2 separate regions of the Homo sapiens genome follow, and region 1 is linked to region 2. Evidence: promoter capture Hi-C in 16 types of primary human blood cells and fetal thymus (Javierre and others, 2016). All regions are on one chromosome and are shown on one strand. The core of a region is centred on a gene start or on the middle of the fragment in contact, and the rest is flanking DNA. Distances in the headings are between cores, read along the strand shown. Region 1 overlaps LOC105369896 (a long non-coding RNA gene). Region 2 holds the start of NUDT4 (nudix hydrolase 4).

What was found. The method cuts DNA at HindIII sites, captures the fragments that hold promoters and counts their contacts. A CHiCAGO score of 5 or more calls a contact.
Region 1: a fragment that was not itself captured here is called in contact with the fragment with the promoter of NUDT4 in region 2 in 2 of 17 cell types (fetal thymus and non-activated CD4 T cells); the score reaches 6.8 in fetal thymus.

What each region holds. Positions count from the first base shown.
Region 1 is chr12:91,382,567-91,385,825 of GRCh38, forward strand. The region is part of intron 4 of LOC105369896 (a long non-coding RNA gene); the gene reads right to left. Among named protein-coding and RNA genes, the nearest start is that of LINC02823, 57 kb to the left of the region's middle. The HindIII fragment of the contact is 3,526 bases long and covers 198-3,259 here.
Region 2 is chr12:93,376,105-93,379,371 of GRCh38, forward strand. It overlaps NUDT4 (nudix hydrolase 4), which reads left to right and starts at 1,821. Exons shown (of 5, transcript NM_019094.6): 1 at 1,821-2,317. The coding sequence starts at 2,219. LOC643339 (a long non-coding RNA gene) reads right to left here and starts at 1,632. Exons shown (of 5, transcript NR_040096.1): 1 at 1,333-1,632. RefSeq lists an enhancer at 1,417-2,356 and silencers at 1,593-1,932, 2,153-2,452. The HindIII fragment of the contact is 6,665 bases long and covers 1-3,267 here.

The sequences.
Region 1 (3,259 bases), core at 711-3,210, 2.0 Mb before region 2:
GGAAACAGAAGGACCCACACTTTAACCTCTCACATAGGAAACCTGTATAGGTTACCAAGTCCTGAAGTTGGCAGAGAAATACAGGTCACAAACAGACTGTTCCCATGTTCTCCTCCCAGAAAACTATGGATTCAATGTAACTTTTTCCCTTGAATATAGCTTTTATGATAAACAATTAGTAAATGAATCCTTAATTAAGCTTTATTCCTGGTGTGGCACAACAAGACCTAAGAAAATCAAACATCTCAGTAAAACTGAAACATATTTTTATTATCTGATTGGTTATAATCAAGAAGCAATATTTCTGTAACAGTTACCTGTCTAAGGAAATGCATAATCTGTCATAAAATATTGCATTCATCAATTATTGGCCCCAGCTGCATTTATGAGCCTATAATCTTTTGCCATAAAACATGGATGTTGGGGAGAGGGGCTGTAGAGAGGAGTATCATATTCATTAACCAATACTACAGAAACTAAAAGTGGTAGTAGACCCTTTTTTTTCTATTGCATTCAGTTTATAATAGTTTCCTTTGACAATAATAATTATAATAATAAAAGAAAAAGAAAAATCCACCTAGGAATTGTATTCCTAAACAACGAAATCTCCAGATGACTACGGATATGTAGTTTTCAACATGCAATATCTGGAAAGAATGTGGGTTCTGTTTCTTTGCAGTAATTCTGTGTGTTTTATAGTCTTTGCTTTATCATCCTGGCCTAGAGCCAGTTAAAGAAATTCATCACCAAATGTGCAACAACCCATGAGAGGGAGTCCAGCATTGAGTTTGGAAATAGAATGAGGTGATTGTAGAGGAAGAGGCCGAGGCTGTCAGTGATGTATTTCCCTATCTCCCTGAGCCTGTCAGCTATTGAGTTGCTCAAGTCCCAGCCCTGACACCTAGCTGCCCCTGTGCCACCATCAGGATGCCCAGTGAGAGAAGAAGAGATGGGGAAATGGAAAGAAATCATCCTGTCCCACCTGCCCATGCAGTAAAGAAGACAAGGAAGAATTTGTAGAAGCCAGGGGTGGAGAGTCTTCCCCCAGAGGAGAGAGGCTCATTGGTCATAGGCCCTAGGGCAGTGGAACCACAGCCCTGGTCCTCAGATGAATGTGGGAGAAGGCAGGATGACTCCAGAGTTGAATATTAGATGTCAGGAGCCCGCAGAAGTGAGAGATGGCTACCAGGAGATGGGACCACAGCTGGGTTCGTTCCAAACATGACCAAAGATTCCCACCTGAGACTGGTACACAAGCACTTGAGAACTGCCAGATGTCAAGGGGATCTTCTGGATAGTGAAAAAATCAGAAGTGACCATGTTAGCCAGAACATCAGCTTCTTCCCTATTTTCATGAAGATTTAAGGCTCCCAGTCTCTGGTGCTATTTTGAAAAGGCTAGAGGAATTCTTGGCAATATGGTAGAATTGAGTCTTGGAGTTAAAACTACGTTAGATTAAGATAAATAATACAAAAGCCATTTCTAACATATCTGAGATTTGCATTATACAAAAGACCATAGTTTATATTTTCTAACAACTGTGTTATTTATCACTGCATTCGTTCCTCAGTACAATCCTATAATGGAATTAGGACAGGTGTCCTGATCCATTTATGCCTAGTGTTCCATTATTGGAACGCTAAGCATCTGGGAGTTATTTATATCCTGCTGCTCAAGGTCATCACCAAGATCTGATTGCAAAAATTCAAAAAATTGCAGCTTCAGGCACAAATGGGTTAATTAGCATTAACAAAGCAAGCCCTTCTGACTTTTATGTTATTCTTCACAAAACTCTCTGGGATTTGTCATTATTATATTAAGTAAACATTTTGAAGTTTTGTAAACACTAAGTTGAGGGACTTGGCAAAGATCATTCAGGCTCTGTCTTCTGTGCTGAAACAAAATTGATAATTGAGATACTTTTCTGAGTAATTTTATTATGAAATCCTCCTCTTATCAGAAATACCTGCATCATGTTTCATTGCTAATTTTGGAAACAGAACAACAGACCTTTGAGAGAGCACTGGCTTGGAAACTAGATTTTGAGATTAACTGTTATGTAAGGACTTAGGATTTTGCTAGTTACAGGTGCCAGGGAGAAATTGGTCATAGCTAGGAAGCTAAAAAATGGAAGCCAAGCTATATAAAAGACAAGATCCCGTAGCCATGCACTAGGTAAAGGGTATGGTCATGAGGACTGGAAGCCCAGTAATTCCAAAATTAGGTGGAAGTGATTTTACAAAAAAGTCTATAATTGTGACGGTATGGATAGACAAGAAATCAAGAATCCTGAGTAGCACAGCTAGAACTGGAAATGGTAAGTAGCAAATTTATAAAGTCTAGAAAGTTAGCAGCAAATCTTGGTTATGAATGGCCTAAGTCATATGAAATCCAGATCCTCACAAAGGGAACTGAAGCACCAAAATGGAGGAGGAGTCAATATTGAGGAAATAACTACTTCCTAGGAACCTAGTGTAGAAGTGCAAACAGCTGTGGATTCTCAGTTCTAGATCAGGAATCATAAGTGAGGGGCACTCCTACCATTGTCCTTTCATTCACATTTGTCAGCCACCAGGCATCACCAGTGAAACACAGCACCCTTTTCTGTGACATCTGGAAGCGGCCTTAATATCTTTCTCAATACAGTGACCCAAGAAACCACAGGAAATCAATTGGAATTACAGTTTTGGGTGTATATTAAGCAAACAACTTAATGTAGCCTATAGGAGAATTAGAGTCACAGTTCTATAGAGTAGGGTGACTATACGTCGCACATGTCCCAGAATGTTTTTTGTTTACATCTCTTGTTACAACATAATTAATAGCACCCCATTCACTCTCAAAGGTGTCCCAAGTATGGACTATAAATTATATTGTCCTTCTGTTTATGGGGAAAATAGTCAGACATCCAAGCCCTACTTCTGACTGACCATGTAATCTTAAGGCTATGTAAAACCACTGAATCAAGTTACTGAAGAAAACAGATACCCTGTATATTTGGTACCATGGAGATCACATTTGTTTTATGCATATGCATGATCTGTTTATGGATTATGGGTCTCAAATTCCCTTCTAAGAGAAATGAATACCTACATTCAAAACTAAAAGGGAGTGATCAGTGACATAAAAAATACTCAATGTGTTTTGTGATCCTTGAGATCAGAGGCTATGAAATGAAGTAAAGAATATTTTACTTAATATTGTTATATACATTGCAAGAAACATTACTTCAAGTTTGCTAATGTATTTGTTCTCTCAA
Region 2 (3,267 bases), core at 571-3,070:
TGGAGGCTGCAGTGAGCTGAAACAGCACCATTGCACTCTAGCCTGTGCAACCAAGCCAGGATTAATAACTTTATTGATGTGAACCAATTATCCAAAAATAATAATCACATATTAGCCATAGCGGACTCCCCAGCTAGATGTTTTCTGCCTGTGTTTGTAAATCCTGGACATAGTTAAATTTCAAGTGCCTTCAATAAGAAATCAATGGCTTGGAAAACATCTCTGCGCAGTCTTGATAAGATTTCTAATTGTGGTGAAGCCTCATTCCTTAAATTATTTATTCAACACTAACCCATTCTACAAACTTACATCTGCTGGGCTCTGGGAGTAACAAGATGAGTTAGATGCAGCAGTCCCAAATCTAAAGGAGGTTGGAGACTAGAAAGACCAGTGCCTGCTCTGAGCTCTCCAGTGGTCCCCAGCCTCTCAGTCAGGCCTCACAGGCCCCTCTGCCAGAGGCGGAACCAGCTTGCCTCCGCTCTGCAGCCACACTGGCCTTTTCTTTCATTTCTGAGAACTCTCCTCACTCCCTCCCACTTTGGGCTCTGCAGAAATCCCAGTTCCCTTTGCCTTGAAAGCTCTTGGTCAATTTAGCTCCTCCTCCTTCAGCCCTCAGCTCCTGCCTTGCTGCCCCAATAATCTTTTTCTGACTGCAGATCTGGTCAAATCTTTGTCTGAAACCTTAGAGCCCATTACATTTGTAGTTTTACGTGTACACGTGTGATCATTTAATATTTGACGGTGTGCTCTCAGGTGCCTACGCTCCTGGAGAGGCAGGGGCTGACTGGTTTTGTTAGATGCCAGTGCCTGACACACAATAGGCCCTCAAGGGGTGAAAAACCAACCAACCAAGTCAGGACCCAAGCAACCTGGGCCTCTGTGGAAGGGCAGAATGGCCTGAGTTTGGGTTTCTCGAGCTACCTTAAGATCAGGCCTCCTGGCTCCTATCTTAGCCCTTCTAACACTCTGAAGTGTAGAGGTTGTTTGTTCCAAGTCCCCAAGGTACTGTAAGCTCCCAGATAGCAGAAATCCCATTATATTTTAGTGCTGTGGCCCCAGCATCCAGCTGCGCTGTTACTTAGCATGAGATCCACATGAAAACCATTTCGCAACTATTAGCCATTGCCAGTATTAATACTTTCCGGAAGGTGGCACAAAGTGGGGGATGTTATAGACAGCTTCAAAGAAACGTTTAAGCTAGAGTTGACTCTTTAAATAATACAAGCCATCCCCAACCAAAGATTAAAAATTTAAATACAAAAAAAAAAAAAGGAAATTTGCCTACCCCCCATTTGTGAAAACAAAGAAAAAAAAAACAGTTAACGTCTTAACTTTTCTAGGCCTTCACTCTCGCCTCTCCCCGCGCTACAAGGGCGAATTCTGGACGTATCTACACAGTCACCGCGGAGTCTGCAATCGCCGCGACGTCCCCTGGCATTTCTTGGCCAGGCTGCAACTTTGGTGACGGTGTATGTAGTTACATCCCCTGTAGTGCAGCTGGTATTTAGGGTCCTCATTGGCAAAGTTGAGGGTATAAGCAGGGAGGGAGGGGACCTTGGCTTCTTTCCATTCACTGGCATGTTTTCGGGGCACGGTCATCCCACGCTGGGCTCCAGCGCCAGTCCCAAGGCCTCGCCGAACTCCAGCCCGGGAGTGCGCGCGGCCCCGCCCACCGGGCGGCCGAGGTCCCGCCCCTACCTCCCCCGCCACACCTACCCACCCACCCCATTGCAATGGTCTCTGCACGCAGGCGCAGTGGCGCGCGGGGGAGGCGGGGCGCATGTGGGCTTCATTTAAACAGAGCAGAGGGGGCGGCGCGCGGTCGCCGCGGTGCTGCTGCTCAGTGGGAGCGGGTCTTCGCAACTGTCTCCGCGTGGCGCGCGCCTCTAGCCGCCCTTCCCCTGGCGGCTACGGCCGGAGGGAGCGGAGGCGAGCGGGAGTCGGGCTCCATGGAGAGCGGCGGACAACTGGGCAGAGGCGGAGCTTTCATCTCGGCACCCTGGTTCCAGTGACCCGCGCTAGCGTCCCGTCCCGCCCGCGTCGGAGCGGCCGCCGGCCCCGGGACTGACCGGCCTCGCCGCACCTCCCGCACCGACTAGCGCTCCCGGGCGCTCCTGCGCCCGACTCGCCCTCGCCCCCACTCCCCGGCGGGGTGGCGGCGGCCGGGCCCCCACGGCGGCGGCCGGAGCAGCAGCAGCAGCAGCAGGAGCCCGCCTCTATGATGAAGTTCAAGCCCAACCAGACGCGGACCTACGACCGCGAGGGCTTCAAGAAGCGGGCGGCGTGCCTGTGCTTCCGGAGCGAGCAGGAGGACGAGGTAGGGCGCCCGGCGCCGCACGCTGCCCTCCGGGGCGCCGGGGTCTAGGGCCCGGGTGCTTCCCCTCGCTCCCCGCCCCTGCGCAGGCTGCGGGGCTGGGAGGGATTAGCCCCCTTCCTCCCTCCCTCCTTTCCTCCCTCACTCCTTTCCTCCCTCACTTCTTCCTTCCTTTCTCTGGGCTGATAGATGAGACAAAGGGGGCTCGCCCAGCCCCAGTTTCTCCATCTGGGCACTCGAGAAGGCGCCTGGTCCCCGGGAAGGTCCCGGGCCGCGTAAGTCTCGCCTAGCGGGAGTCACCATCTTAACGTGCGAATTGAGTTGAAAGCCGGATAAACCTCGAGTGCTCAGCGAGAGGAGGGTGGAAATGGCGTGAGTGTTGCAGCAGAGCCCTTGTGCCTCTTTTACATATTTTCCTTCCATGTTACAGCCGTTTGCGGTCTCGGATTCGATCTAAGCATGTTTGTGGAGTAACAGACAGTCCTCGTGCTTGGAATTGAGTCTAGTCTTGGCAATTCTTGTGGGTCCATGAACCCGCAAGCTGTTGGCATAATTATGCCTCATTTTTAAAACGGCCTTCCCTTCTTAAAGTTTTCTGACTGCAGAAAAATGGTTAGTGAAAAATGTGGAATAATGCCAAAAGGGAGACGATGGACTAGAGATGGGCAAAGCTGCCATTTTCAGACAGTAATCTCCAGCTCTCAGCTTATGTATAAAGGGTTCTTTGCTGTCTGGCTTGACATCTGGAAAGGAGTAGCCTTTCTCGTTCTCAGAGCAGTCGTTCTTGGATAATTTACCCATCTGCATTGGGCTGAGAATGAGACCCTTGGGGTTTCCCTGGAGAGCGATTTTTACTTAATTCAGTAGTATTTATTTAAAATGGCTAACTGTTGAAGTTTGCTTAGGGCAATAGTAGCCTTTTGGTATTGCCACTCTTAAGATAAATTACATAG